4 separate regions of the Homo sapiens genome follow, and all the other regions are linked to region 3. The links are contacts of gene promoters, found by promoter capture Hi-C in blood cells and fetal thymus (Javierre and others, 2016). All regions are on one chromosome and are shown on one strand. The core of a region is centred on a gene start or on the middle of the fragment in contact, and the rest is flanking DNA. Distances in the headings are between cores, read along the strand shown. Region 1 holds the start of P2RX5 (purinergic receptor P2X 5). Region 2 holds the start of TRPV3 (transient receptor potential cation channel subfamily V member 3). Region 3 has its middle 22 kb from the start of OR1D5. Region 4 holds the start of NCBP3 (nuclear cap binding subunit 3).

Evidence for each region. The method cuts DNA at HindIII sites, captures the fragments that hold promoters and counts their contacts. A CHiCAGO score of 5 or more calls a contact.
Region 1: a contact is called between the fragment with the promoter of P2RX5 here and a fragment that was not itself captured in region 3, in 5 of 17 cell types (endothelial precursors, M0 macrophages, M1 macrophages and 2 more). The highest score is 8.9, in endothelial precursors.
Region 2: a contact is called between the fragment with the promoter of TRPV3 here and a fragment that was not itself captured in region 3, in 2 of 17 cell types (M1 macrophages and M0 macrophages). The highest score is 6.8, in M1 macrophages.
Region 4: the fragment with the promoter of NCBP3 here is called in contact with a fragment that was not itself captured in region 3 in 2 of 17 cell types (naive B cells and total B cells); the score reaches 5.3 in naive B cells.

The regions. Positions count from the first base shown.
Region 1 is chr17:3,694,286-3,697,490 of GRCh38, reverse strand. P2RX5 (purinergic receptor P2X 5) reads left to right here and starts at 1,336. Exons shown (of 12, transcript NM_002561.4): 1 at 1,336-1,622. The coding sequence starts at 1,486. P2RX5-TAX1BP3 (P2RX5-TAX1BP3 readthrough (NMD candidate)) reads left to right here and starts at 1,087. Exons shown (of 15, transcript NR_037928.1): 1 at 1,087-1,622. RefSeq lists a silencer at 1,107-1,466 and enhancers at 1,587-1,636, 1,749-2,265. The HindIII fragment of the contact is 7,185 bases long and covers 1-3,205 here.
Region 2 is chr17:3,556,562-3,559,528 of GRCh38, reverse strand. TRPV3 (transient receptor potential cation channel subfamily V member 3) reads left to right here and starts at 1,717. Exons shown (of 18, transcript NM_145068.4): 1 at 1,717-1,853. RefSeq lists enhancers at 1-700, 609-838, 869-918, 999-1,058, 701-1,517 and 2 more and a silencer at 2,699-2,758. The HindIII fragment of the contact is 5,895 bases long and covers 1-2,938 here.
Region 3 is chr17:3,040,210-3,043,321 of GRCh38, reverse strand. No RefSeq gene overlaps it. Among named protein-coding and RNA genes, the nearest start is that of OR1D5, 22 kb to the left of the region's middle. The HindIII fragment of the contact is 162 bases long and covers 1,599-1,760 here.
Region 4 is chr17:3,844,810-3,847,849 of GRCh38, reverse strand. NCBP3 (nuclear cap binding subunit 3) reads left to right here and starts at 1,604. Exons shown (of 13, transcript NM_001114118.3): 1 at 1,604-1,809. The coding sequence starts at 1,627. RefSeq lists silencers at 1,316-1,435, 1,616-1,905. The HindIII fragment of the contact is 12,990 bases long and covers 1-3,040 here.

The DNA.
Region 1 (3,205 bases), core at 87-2,586, 650 kb before region 3:
AAAGCCAGGGGTAGGGAGAGGAGCAGGACTGCTTGTGGTCAGACTGCAGGATGCAGAAAATAAGCGTGCGCAGCTCCTCACCACACCGCGCTCACCCAGGGCCCTGCGTCTTTGGCTGTCAGGAGTTCTAAACCTGCCCCCCCGGAGGCCCTCCCTCATCCCACTCCCACTCCTGTTGAATTCCACATACTGAGAGGGTTGCAGTCATAGCTGCATGGATCAGTTCTATTTCTTGTGCGTTGGGAACCATTCCAAACAGTTGGTACATGCGCACTCTCCAGGCATATTTTTAGGATCCTAGGGTGGGTTGCCTGTGTCTCCCCGCCCCCACCCCGTCTGCCCCCCACCCCCGCACCATCCGCCCTGAGTGTGGGAGGGAGGTCTTCATGCTGCCGGCACTCGGGACCTGCCTGACCACCGACTCCGCCGGAGTGTGGGCTTTTAAACCTGCAGCAGCTGCTGCAGTAGAAACGCGCATTAGTCGCAGCAGACACAGGCAGCCTCAGGTGGGACAAGTCTTGTCTCTTCCAGCCTGTGGGGGAGCCACGGCTTCCCCCCCACAACCACCCCCTGCCCACGGAGCAAGAATGTATCTCCCTGGCAGGAGACCTGGCGCGAGGTGAATGGAGAAACCTGTTGTGTCCCCTTCCTTCCTCCCCTGGCCTCAGTTCCCCATCTATTCAATAGGAAGAACCCTTTGGGATTTCTTTGCGAGAGAAAGGGGAGTTTTGCTTTAAACGGAGCTCTTCCCGGCCGTGCGCGGTGGCTCACGCCTGTAATCCCAGCACTTTGGGAGGCCGAGGTGGGCGGATCACCTGAGGTCAGGAGTTCAAGACCAGCCTGGCCAACATGGTGAAACCCCGTCTCTACTAAAAATACAAAAATTATCACGCCTGTAGTCCCAGCTACTTGGGAGGCTGAGGCAGGAGAATCGCTTGAACCCGGGAGGCGGAGGTAGCAGTGAGCTGAGATCGCACCACTGCACTCCAGCCTCGGCGACAGAGCGAGGCTCCGTCTCAAAAATAAATGAATAAATAAATTTAAAATAAAATAAAAAGGAGCCCTTCCCCCTTTCACTTCCTCTCCTCCGCGATCGCTGCTTTCAGCTGGGCAACAGCACAGGGCGGTCCTGCGCATCCGGGGGGCTGCGCTCCCAGACCGGTGGCTGGGGAGTAGGTTGCAGGGGTGTCACTGTGTCAGGGGAGGAGGAGGAGGAGGAGGAAGAAGAGGTAGCGGCAAGGTCGCGGTCTGAGGTTCCGGTGCTCGCCGCCGCCCAGCTCCCAGCCGAGGCTTTCTCAACCGCGTCAATAAAAGGCCGCCCCGACCCGCCCCCGCGCCCCGCAGCCCTGCCGGACACCCCGGGCTGCAGCTGAGCGGGCGCAGACGGGCCGAGGCGGGCGCCGGGCGCGCAGGGACCGAGGGACCGAGTGCTCCCCATGAGCGCACGTGGGCCGGGCGGTCCGCAAGCCCGGCTGAGAGCGCGCCATGGGGCAGGCGGGCTGCAAGGGGCTCTGCCTGTCGCTGTTCGACTACAAGACCGAGAAGTATGTCATCGCCAAGAACAAGAAGGTGGGCCTGCTGTACCGGCTGCTGCAGGCCTCCATCCTGGCGTACCTGGTCGTGTAAGTTCTCCGCGGACTTTTGGGAAGGCGGGGGAGGGGCAGGGCGGGTGCCAGCCGCCGCGTCCTTCTCCAGGGTCCTGGAATTCGCAGGCGTGCACGCGGTTTTCCCGGTAGCTGGGGGTCTGTGAGCCTGCTTGCTGTGGGGGTCCTCTTTGGGTCCTTGGGTGTAGGAGTAGGGTGTAGAGAGGGGGCTCTCCACTCCCCCACTGGCGCTAGAGGTGATGAGAGGTGGGCAGGGGCCTTCTGGTTTCCTCGATTTATCAGGCTTTCCCTGCAGCTGCTTCTCCCAGAGTCGGGTCCCCACGTGTTAGGGCCATGGGAAGGGGGCAGGGATGCCAGGGGGCTGGGTGGCAGCTGTCGCCCCAGGAGCCTCCCTGGGCCTTGGCCTGGCAGCTGACCCAGGCGCCGGCAGGTTATTTATAATCACAGGGTGTCACTGCCTACTCAGAGCTGGAGAAACTCATCAGCCCGGCATGTTCCTGAGCTCCCTTCCGGTCAACTTGCCCCACCCGCGGCCAGCCTCTCTGGTGTCCAGCTGGGGGTCCTGCCCAGAGGCCTCTATCTCTGCACCCAGCTCGGCCATCCCCTTCCCCCATCCTCATGCCACCTGGCAGGAGCTGGCGCCACAAAGCCAAAGAGGCAACTTGTGGAGGCTGCTCTGCCAGGCGCCTTCAGAGCCCTGACCCCGGGGTGGGTCGGGGGTGAGCAGGTGGAGGGGAGAAGCAGCGCTGGACAATGGGGATGCGCCTCATTCCACTCGTTCAGTAAATGCGGTGGAGTTCCTCCTGCTTCCTCCTGGGAGGGCAGCCCTGACGCCTGGCTCTCCCTCGGAGGTCCAGCAGTCCGCGTTCTCTGAGCTGCATCCCCAGGCCCCTGGCCGCCTCCCACCTGAGCGGCCTCGTAGGCGCTGTGCTGTTGCTCAGCCAGGCCTGCCCGTCCTCCTCCACTCCCTTAGCATCCACTCAGCCCCCAGATCTGGGCTTTCCAGTAACTCCCTCTCCCTTCCTCCCTGGCCTTCCCACAGTGTAATTATTGGGCTTATTTGGGGGATCATTTGCCTGATGTCGCTGTCAGTCCGGGAATGCCCTGAGGGTGGGGCCCCAGCAGCACTTAACTGCTTAGGGAATAGATGTGAAATGAACGCATGAATGAATAAATGGAGTTGCTTTTGCTTGAACAATAGAAATTTAATTCTCGCAGTCCTGGATGTGGAAATCTGAGACGAGGGTGGTAGCATGGTTCGGGGTCTCAGGGGGGGCTCTCTCCTTGGCTTGCAGATGGCCACCCTCTCGCTGTGTCCTCACATGGCAGGGAAAGCAGGACATATTTAACTAAGTACAAGTATGAAAATTAGGAAATTGGCGGCCGGGCGCTGTGGCTCATGCCTATAATCCCAGCCCTTTGGGAAGCCGAGGTGGGTGGATCACCTGAGGTCAGGAGTTCGAGACCAGCCTGGCCAACATGGAGAAACCCTGTTTCTACTAAAAATACACAACAATTAGCTGGGCATGATAGTGGCGCCTGTAATCCCAGCTAATCGGGAGGCTGAGGCAGGAGAATCTGTCTCTATGGATTTGCCTATT
Region 2 (2,967 bases), core at 468-2,967, 520 kb before region 3:
ACACGGCCTTCTCCAGTTCTGAATCCCTCGTTGTCCACCTGCGCCCTTGCCACGGCCTCTCCCGTGGGCTCTCACCATGTGCTGGGTTAAATGGGGTTGAATATAGACCATCTAAGGGGCTGAAGCTGCTGCTTCTGTGTGTTTGGGGTGGGATTAGGATGGGCTCGGGCTTCCTAAGTAGTGACTGTGACTCCACTGGGTGACCTGGCTCCTGCTGCCTCTCATAGCAGAGCGGGGGTCCCCTTCTTCCTTGCTGGGCACAGGGCACACCTCTGGGTGGGAGACAGGGGCCTTTTTCACCAGCTCCCACCTGCCCTCTGAGAAAAGTTATGAACACGAGCAAAATGGAAGCACTGACATTTGGCAGCAGCTTCCTCCCCAGGCGTCTGAGCCGCCAGAGGCAAACAGGGAGGGCGCGGGGCTGGGTCGGGAGAGGGTGAGTAAGCTAGTGGCCGGAGGCCGTGCTCAACCCCAGATCGGGCTTTTCCGGTCGAGTTTCAGGCACAGTCATGAGATTTCAGATTGTGAGTGGGAACTTCAGGACCCCCTGACTTCAACGGCAGAAGCGGTCTCCTGCTTCACCCACACCCTCAAGTCTGGTCTGCCCCTTACCGGCCATAGGTCCTGCTCTCCCGTGGCCTAGAAGCCTCACCTGCCTCCTGCCTCCTCCCCAGGCCAGGCAGGTTGTGATGATGAGGGATTGAGAGGCTCACAGCTGGGGATTTCCCTGCCCATCAGGCGCCAGCTGCGGCCGCGTCAGCAGAGACTTCCTGCTCTGTCCCAGCTGTGTCTTGTCCACATCTCGCCCCGGGGAGCAGGTGTGCAGTTCCTGAGTGACGCGAGACACACACGGCCATCCTGACTCACTCCACCCACTTCACAGCTGCAGCCTGGGCCAGGAGAGAGGGCACCGATTCCTTCTATGACGCCCTGGCCTTGGAGAAGGGCAACCTGGGCAGTTGCTGGGAGAATACATTGAGATGACAAAAGCAATCATAGCTAAGAGCTGACATTGTTTATTGAGTTCTTGCCGTGCCCTGGGCCTTGTTCTGGCCCTTTCTACTTGTACTTGTTGAAGCCCCACGATAACCTTGCAAAGTGGGTTTATGAAGCACGTTTCACAGATGAGGAGACTGAGGCTCGGAGAAATGACCTGCTAAGGTCATTCAGCCAGGAAGGGGTGAGGCTGACACTAAGGGCCATGATGCGTGACTGCTGGTGGACAGCATTAAATGGGGACTTCCGTCCCCGAGAGACCTGATCCCAGGAACCGACTTTTGAGAACAAGTGCCGAGTCTTGGGGCTGGCCACCCTGAGGTCAACCAGGCTAGGCCTGGGCTGCGGTCTTCCCTCCCAGGGGACAGAGCAGAGCGCTTGACTCTTCACTAGGCCCTCCCACCTCTGTGATCTCTTTGGCTCTTCACGGCTCCCTTGGAAAGTAGATGTTATCATTCCCATTTCCTAGTTGGAAAAATAGGCCTGAGATGGGCAGTCCCTGCCCAGCATGGAATGCCAGAGAGGGAGGAGTTGGACCCACAACTTCGATCTTGGCACCTGCGGCCTCCCCTGCCTTTTCTCCGGTGGGGATGAGGCTGCTGTGTGGGTGTGGGGGTGACTCACACGGGCCACGTGGGTGGGCGGGTGCTGCAGCTGTGGCTGGTGGGCGTGGCCTGCCTGGCGCCGAGGGCAGGTGGCTCAGCCAGTTCTGCCTCTGACGCCTCATTCCAGCCATCCCTCTGCCTGCAATGAGAGCTTCCCGCCGCCTCAGCCACAGTCCCACCCGGGGGCCTTGGGCCCCAGACATGCGGTGATCTCAGGGCAAGGGTTGCCACGACCACCCAGAACCTCACCAGGTGAGTCTTCTGTGCACAAGGCAGCTGGTGATCTCCAAGGCCCCTGGGGAGCCCAGAGCGTGGCCCTCAGAGGTCCTCTGGGCCATGTCTGCCCTTGGCCAATAGGCCTTGGGAGGAGGGTTGGAAGGAGCTTGGGCCCCAGCCAGGGGCCCACTCTTGGCTGTAGGGAGGCACTCTTGGCTGCACTCTTGGCTGTAGGGATGTGTGAGAATATAGGTCCTTACAGACTCAGGAACATTCCCCTGAGGTTTGGGAATCCTGGGGAGGGACATCTCAATCTCACCACTGCTGGGGGCAGAGGAGAGGCTCCTGCCTCCCGAGGCTGACCCAGGGAGGTGGCTTTCTGGGGCAGGATTGTGATGGGAGTTCAGGATGGGAGGAGGTGGCCCCACCGTGGGAGACAGACGGGGCCCAGGCATCTCACAGGTGCTGAGTCAGCAGCTGTGGCTCCGCGGCCTGGTCTGTCGCCCGGGAAAGGCCATTTCAATCAGTGTCAGGGATTGGGAGAGAGAGGGAGGGCCAGGGCAACAAGAGAGTCCAGCAGGTGAGAACGTGGGGTTTACGGGGTGACTCAGGGAGCTAATGATAGCTGCTGCGGCCCTAGTCCAGAGTTCCCTGAGCCTCTCCTGCCCCAGAGGCCCAGGGCAGGCCACATTCTCGGGCCCAGAGAAGAGAGAGAGCAACCAGCTCTCAGGGCCACAGAGTCCTTGGGGACCATTCAGCCCACTTCTCAGAAAGGAAACCAGAGGCCCTGGGAGGGGCAAGAGACGTGCCCTTCTTCTGTCTCCTTCACGCTCGGTGCATCCCAGCCTTTTAGTCCACCAAAGGCCACGTGGGGATGGGGAAAGCCATAGAGGCTGCCCATCCTCATCAGGCCGTGACTGGACACGGGAGGGCCGGGTGCCCAGGAGTCCCTCTCTGTGGGCTACTCCACCTGCCTGGCCTCAAGGTTGCCTACGCTCCAGGGCCAAAGCTCTCCCTCGCCGATGCCTCCTCCATCCTGAGCCTGCTCCCTTTGAGTTGGAGGGCGGGGGACTCTCTCCAGCCTGATGACACCTGGCTCCGGAAACTTCCTCCAGGAAGCTTTCCTATTGGGGTAGGATCACCAGTGGCC
Region 3 (3,112 bases), core at 430-2,929:
AAAATCGTTTCCATTATATTCACTATTGCACTTTCAGTGGCATAGTTGGATTTTATCTGGACCCCATTGTCCATATTCCCTGGATTTTTCCTCATATTTCTTACTAGTGATAAGTTCTTATAAAACCCAACAATCGGCATTTTAGAACAAGGCCATAAAGACTTCCTTGCTGGTCTAATATTTAATTTTTTAATGGAATGTCTTGCAGGAGGATCCATAAAATTCATTTGACCCAATAATTTGAGCAAGCGTTCTACCATCTTTCTTATGAAGTGTCTGTGCCTTTCCTAGTACAGCCTCACTGGTGTGTGTATGATCATTCATTTGTACATTTTTATGTGGAGCTGGTTATGTTGCAGTTTGTTTTTATTAGTCCTTTGATATGAGCTGCTTTGTGTTATTATTTCACTCGATGGAGTCACTCATCAACTCATCCTTTTTTTTTTTTTTTTTTTTTTTTCTTTTCTGAGATAGAGTCTCGCTCTGTCACCCAGGCTGGAGTGCAGTGGTGCGATCTCGGCTCACTGCAACCTCCACCTCCTGGGTTCAAGCAATTCTCTGCCTCAGCCTCCCGAGTAGCTGGGATTACAGGCTCCCGCCACCACGCCCAGCTAATTTTTGTATTTTTAGTAGAGACGGGGTTTCACCATCTTGGCCATGCTGGTCTTGAACTCTTGACCTTGTGATCCACCCGTCTCGGCCTCCCAAAGTGCTGGGATTACAGGCGTGAGCCACCGTGCCCAGCCCTGAACTTTCCTTAGAACTGCACCCCATCTAAGAGGCCTTCACGCAACCTCCCTCACTCCCATCTCTCCTCCGTGCAGGGTCAGACCTGCATCACAGCCTGACAGCTTTTCCAGCCTCCTCCATATCCCACCTCCTCCGTTTTCACTCACAGGCCCTTCTCCTAATAATTTGTTGACGCTGTCTTGGTGTCTGCTTCTCAGACTCCCCAGACTCACCAGCGCTCTCCCCTGGGGCAGTATCAAAATGAGATGCCCCTTTGGCCCTTCTGCACCCCACCCTACCACACCAGGACAAAGAGGGGCACTGGTGTGAGAACTGACCAGCCATTTGTCAAAGAAAAATCACACCAGACAGAGTTAAATAGGCAAGGAAGATTTTACTCAAGACTACTGCAAAGGGGACAAAGACTGAACTCAACTTTGACACGTCAGGGACAGTTGCAGATTTATAGCCGATGGGCAGAGTGAGGAGTTTCCTTAGATGGGAAATTACTAAGAGGAGCCTAGGTATCAAGGGTGGGGGACGAGCAACTTGATCAAATATCAAGGGCAGGGCGATATTCACACTGGTTTATAAGATTCTTTGCTAAAACTGCCTTGGCAAACCAAGGACAGGTCGAGTGTGAGGCCTCATTGAAGAGACGGCCAGAGGATCCTGACTGAAGTACGGTCAAGGAGGGCGTCTTTGCCACGTCCCAAGCCAAGATCTGTACCCACCAGGCTTGCCCACCCCAGGAAATGGGTGAGAAGGGCTTTGCGTGGAATGTGAAGTTTACCACAAACAGGGCTGCGTCTGAACACACAAGAGACTGTTGTAATAACTGTTGTATTAACTGAGGATCACTGCAAGCTTAGGGAACTGGACCGCAATGTTGTTGTTAGAATAGAACCAGGGGACACCGAAGGTTGGTCAGAGCGCATGTGGGAGAGGGCATGGCTGGACACAGGGAGCACTCCAAAAACGAGACTGAGGGAAAATCTGAGCGCGGGCTGACCAGACTCCTCATGAAAGCTTTTCCCCCACGGAGCAGGCAAAACAGTGCCCCCACCCCCACCCCCACCCCCAAAATGTCCAGTGACTGCTACAAGCTGTTAGACGCTGAGTGGAAAAAACAGATTTTAAGAGTCCTAAAACTGAGCCCCAACCTGGAGGCGTGCCCACCTCGGGAGAAAGAACACCTGACCACAGACACCTAGACCGATCAGGGAGCTTTCAGAACCCTAGGAGAGCCTGCAGGCTTGGAGGGACAATACCGACCAGCATAGCTGATGACTTCCATGCCTCCTACATTTCCCACAGAGACAGGACATGTTCCACCTCCACAAAGTGTCCAGATATAGGTAACCTCACATTTTCTGGGAGGAAGGGTTGAACCCAGGAAGCAGCCGAACCGTGAGGTACAGATGGGCACAGAGAGTTTGTGTGAAAGATGAAGCTTGACTTGCAGCCAAGGGGACTCAACAGGTGGAATCTAACACCCGAGAAATAAGACATCTGTAACCGTGGGCTCAGACAGGCACCACTTGGCACAGCATGATGGCAGAAGCGTGGGATGCTGGACACATGGGTTCCAGGACAGGGGCTCCAAGCTGGGCAGGGAAACCAGAGAGAGCCAGGATGCACTTTTCCTGATACATTTCTGTGCATCTAGAACCTTCCAAGTCTGGAACTTCCTTTCATATTGAGCTCAGCATATGAGATTTGGATCCCAAACTGAAATTTGAAACTGATCCCTTAAGTGAAACGGGAATAATACATGCCTTCGTGGGCTTTTCAGATGACTAAATTAGATGATCATTGTGAGTTCTGGGCTGGGGCAGTGGCTCACACCTGTCATCCCAGTGCTTTGGGAGGCCGAGGCAGGCGGATTACCTGAGGTCAGGAGTTCGAGACCAGCCTGGCCAACTTGGTAAAACCCCGTCTCTACTAAAAATACAAAAAATTAGCTGGGCGTGGTGGCACATGCCTGTAGTCCCAGCTACCGGGGAGGCTGAGGCAGGAGAATTGCTTGAACCTGGGAGGCAGAGGTTGCAGTGAGCTGAGATTGTGCCACTGCACTCCAGCCTGGGCGACAGAGTGAGACTCCATCTCAAAAAAAAAAAAAAAAAGTGAGTTCTGCTACGGCAGTTGTGTTGAAAATGGAAATGGAGTCCAATGTAGTTGATATAATAGGAAACAATCGGAGTATCATGGAAGTTGCCCTTTAGCTTACGCTCCTCATCCATGAGAAATATTAGGTGAGTGCCAAAACCGGCAGCCAGCTAAATCAAGCTGCACAGGGACACACAAAATACACATACACCTCCAACATCTGCCAGCTGCCTCAATACACCATGTGCCGGGGGCCATACCCATCCACCTCTGC
Region 4 (3,040 bases), core at 355-2,854, 800 kb before region 3:
GATCTCCTGACCTCATGATCTGCCCGCCTTGGCCTCCCAAAGTGTTGGGATTACAGGCATGAGCCACCGTGCCCGGCCTCAACCCAATTTTTAAAAGTACTTTGTGTCCCATTCATCAAATAAAACTAGTCCTCTAAAGAGCTCTGTCTTGTGTTTATCCTGTGGTTTAGCCCAAATTTAAGAAAAACTGTGATGTACTGCACCCCTTCTGTTGGACCCTGTATCTACATATAAATTATCACATTTAACCCTCACAACCTCCTTTGTAGGTAGGTAATGGTCCATTTTACTGATGAAGGAACTGAGACTCCAAAGTGCTAAGCAGCTTGCCTAAGGTCACACATGGTGGATGGGGCCCGGCCAGCCAGCTCGAAACCCAGGTGTGTCTGATGCTGACCATGCTCTTCCTTGGTTTATCATTATTTGCTCCTCCATGGTCAGAGCTGGTAGGGCCTCAGGGCCTCAGAGACTGTAGGGTCTCACCTATGCCCTCCTCAGATGGGAAAACAGACCCAAAAACCTGTCCAAGGTTACCCAGGGAGGAAGATGCAAAATCAGGACTCAGGCCGGGCGCGGTGGCTCATGCCTGTAATCCCAAGACTTTGGGAGGCCGAGGCGGGTGGATCGCTTGAGGTTAGGAATTCGAGACCAGCTTAGTCAACATGGTGAAACCCTGTCTCTACAAAAAAAAAAAAAAAAAAGAAAGAAAGAAAGAAAGAGGAGAGGGAGGAAGGAAGGAAAAGAGAAAGAAAGAAAAGAAGAAAGAAAGGAAGGAAGAAAGGAATAAAGAAAGAAAGAAAGAAAGAAAAAGAAAATCAGGACTCAGAACAGCAGCTGATCAGTGACACCCTCGGGACGCGTAGACAACCCCTCTCCCCCACCAGGCTCTCGTTAGAAATATCCGCCGGAAACTATGCTCACAGGTCTACAGTGGATGGCACCCTCAGGAGTCAGGAAATCGGCGTCCAAGTTCTGGCCTTTGGGCAGGTCTCTCCCTCTTGGAGTCTCAATTTTTGTGTATGTAACATGGGCCAATTTTGGGGAGACTTTTAAGAGACAAAGACTGGCAAGGCAAGTAACTTTATAAACCTACAGATTGTCCAGAGGTGATATATCAAGGCTCATTGTAAACTCTGGAAGACTTAGATCCAGCTTTTATCCCTTAAATGGCGTCACCTTGGGTCAATTTCTATGCCTCAGTTTCCTCATATATGAAATGGGGGTCAAAATAGGATCTACTTCATAGAGTTGTTCTAAGGGTTCGAGCGCTTGGAAGTGTCTGGCCCATAGTGATCACTCAGGAAAGTTGGCTTTTAGTACAGCTTTAGCCTCAAGGCGTAGCTACATTGTAACCCTTGACTACCCCGGTCTCCTCCAAGCTCCGTAGTTCCCGCAGGCCCCGCCCCCGTCCCCGCTCAGTCCCGCCTTCTCCTCCCCAGGTCCCGCCCGCGCAGCCGGCCCGGTTTTCTCCCGCCACCAGGGGGCGGCGGCGCTAAGGGCGGCCTTCTGGGCCGAAGCCGGCGACGCTCTAGGTAGCTGCGGCGGCTCCTCTGTGGCCAGTGGCAGCGGCGCTCTAGCCGGCGGCCGTGAGGGGCGGGCTCTCAGTGGTGCGGCCGGCAGGCAGCGATGGCGGCCGTACGGGGCCTGCGGGTGTCGGTGAAGGCGGAGGCCCCGGCGGGGCCGGCCCTGGGGCTCCCGTCCCCTGAGGCGGAGTCCGGTGTTGACCGTGGCGAGCCGGAGCCCATGGAGGTGGAGGAGGGCGAGCTGGAAATCGTGCCTGTGCGGCGCTCGCTCAAGGAACTGATCCCGGTACGGGCGGGGGTCGGGGGGTAAGGAAGAGGTCGCGGGGCTAGTGTCTAGCGCCGGAGGGGGCCGGAAGGGGCGGTGGCCGGAGCCCCAGCCGGGGAAGTCAAGGGAGCGGGAGAGGAGGGAGCCAGCGTCCTGGGAACGGGAACGCCGGGCTGGAGGAGGGACGCGGAGCGGGAGAAAGGACGCCGGGGCGCCGGAAATGGGTGTTGAGGGGGCTGGGGGGTGGTGGCGGAGAGCTGGGAGGGAGTTGAGGACCCCCCTCCGCTGCCCCCTCTGAGCCGCGCTGTGCAAGGAGGTGAGTGAGGAGGGGCTGGAAGGATGAGATAAAGGGGGAGCCCTGGGCGGGAACAGAACCAGGGGCAGCCCAGAAGGAGCTGTTGGGTGGCGCCAGCAACCAGGTCTCCTTGTGGGTCTTGCCCCGGAGGAATTTGTATCTGGGAAACATGGCACTCGCTCTTTGTCTTGAGAGGGCTGCACTTGTCAGCAGCAGAAACTCACTGTTTCTGTCGTGACTTCGGGGTCATCTTGCCCCCCCCGCAGCTCCAGTGACACCTACACCGTGGCCCCAGCATCTGACTCTTAATGAAAGCAAACTAGCAGACGACCAATAGACATCCTTGGTCCCTCCTTTACCGCGCTGGGGATGGTGAGAGGTGTTTTGCTTGTGACTTGGTGGCTGTATATCCAGTTCTCAGAGCTGGTTTCAGGCCTGGATGACTCCTCTTAATTTCTCACCTAACATGAATTACTTTTGACCACATGTCAACATATTTAGACTGAAGTTATGGAGAAAGGTTAAAGTATGATCGCTAGAGATGGCAAACGTTATAATTATGATTAACAACAGCTAATATAGTAGCATTTACCATTCACTATATTGTGTCACTTAAATATACTGGCCGTGCACGCCTTTAGTGCCAGCTATTCAGGAGTCTAAGTTCCAGACCAGCCTCAGCAATATAGCAAGACCCCTTTGAGGTCCCCCCTTTCCCCTCTCCCCATCTCAAAAACAAAACCAAAATAAATAAATATTACTGCAGTTGTGAAGCAGGTGTTATCATCCCTTTAGTCATTCAGTTCAACATGGTTTTTGTTTTGTTTTGTTTTGAGACGGAGTTCGCTCTTGTTGCCCAGGCTGGAACGCAATGGCGCGATCTCGGCTCACCGCAACTTCCGCCTCCCGGGTTCAAGCCATTCTCCTGCCTCAGCCTCCTGAGTAGCCAAGTACAAT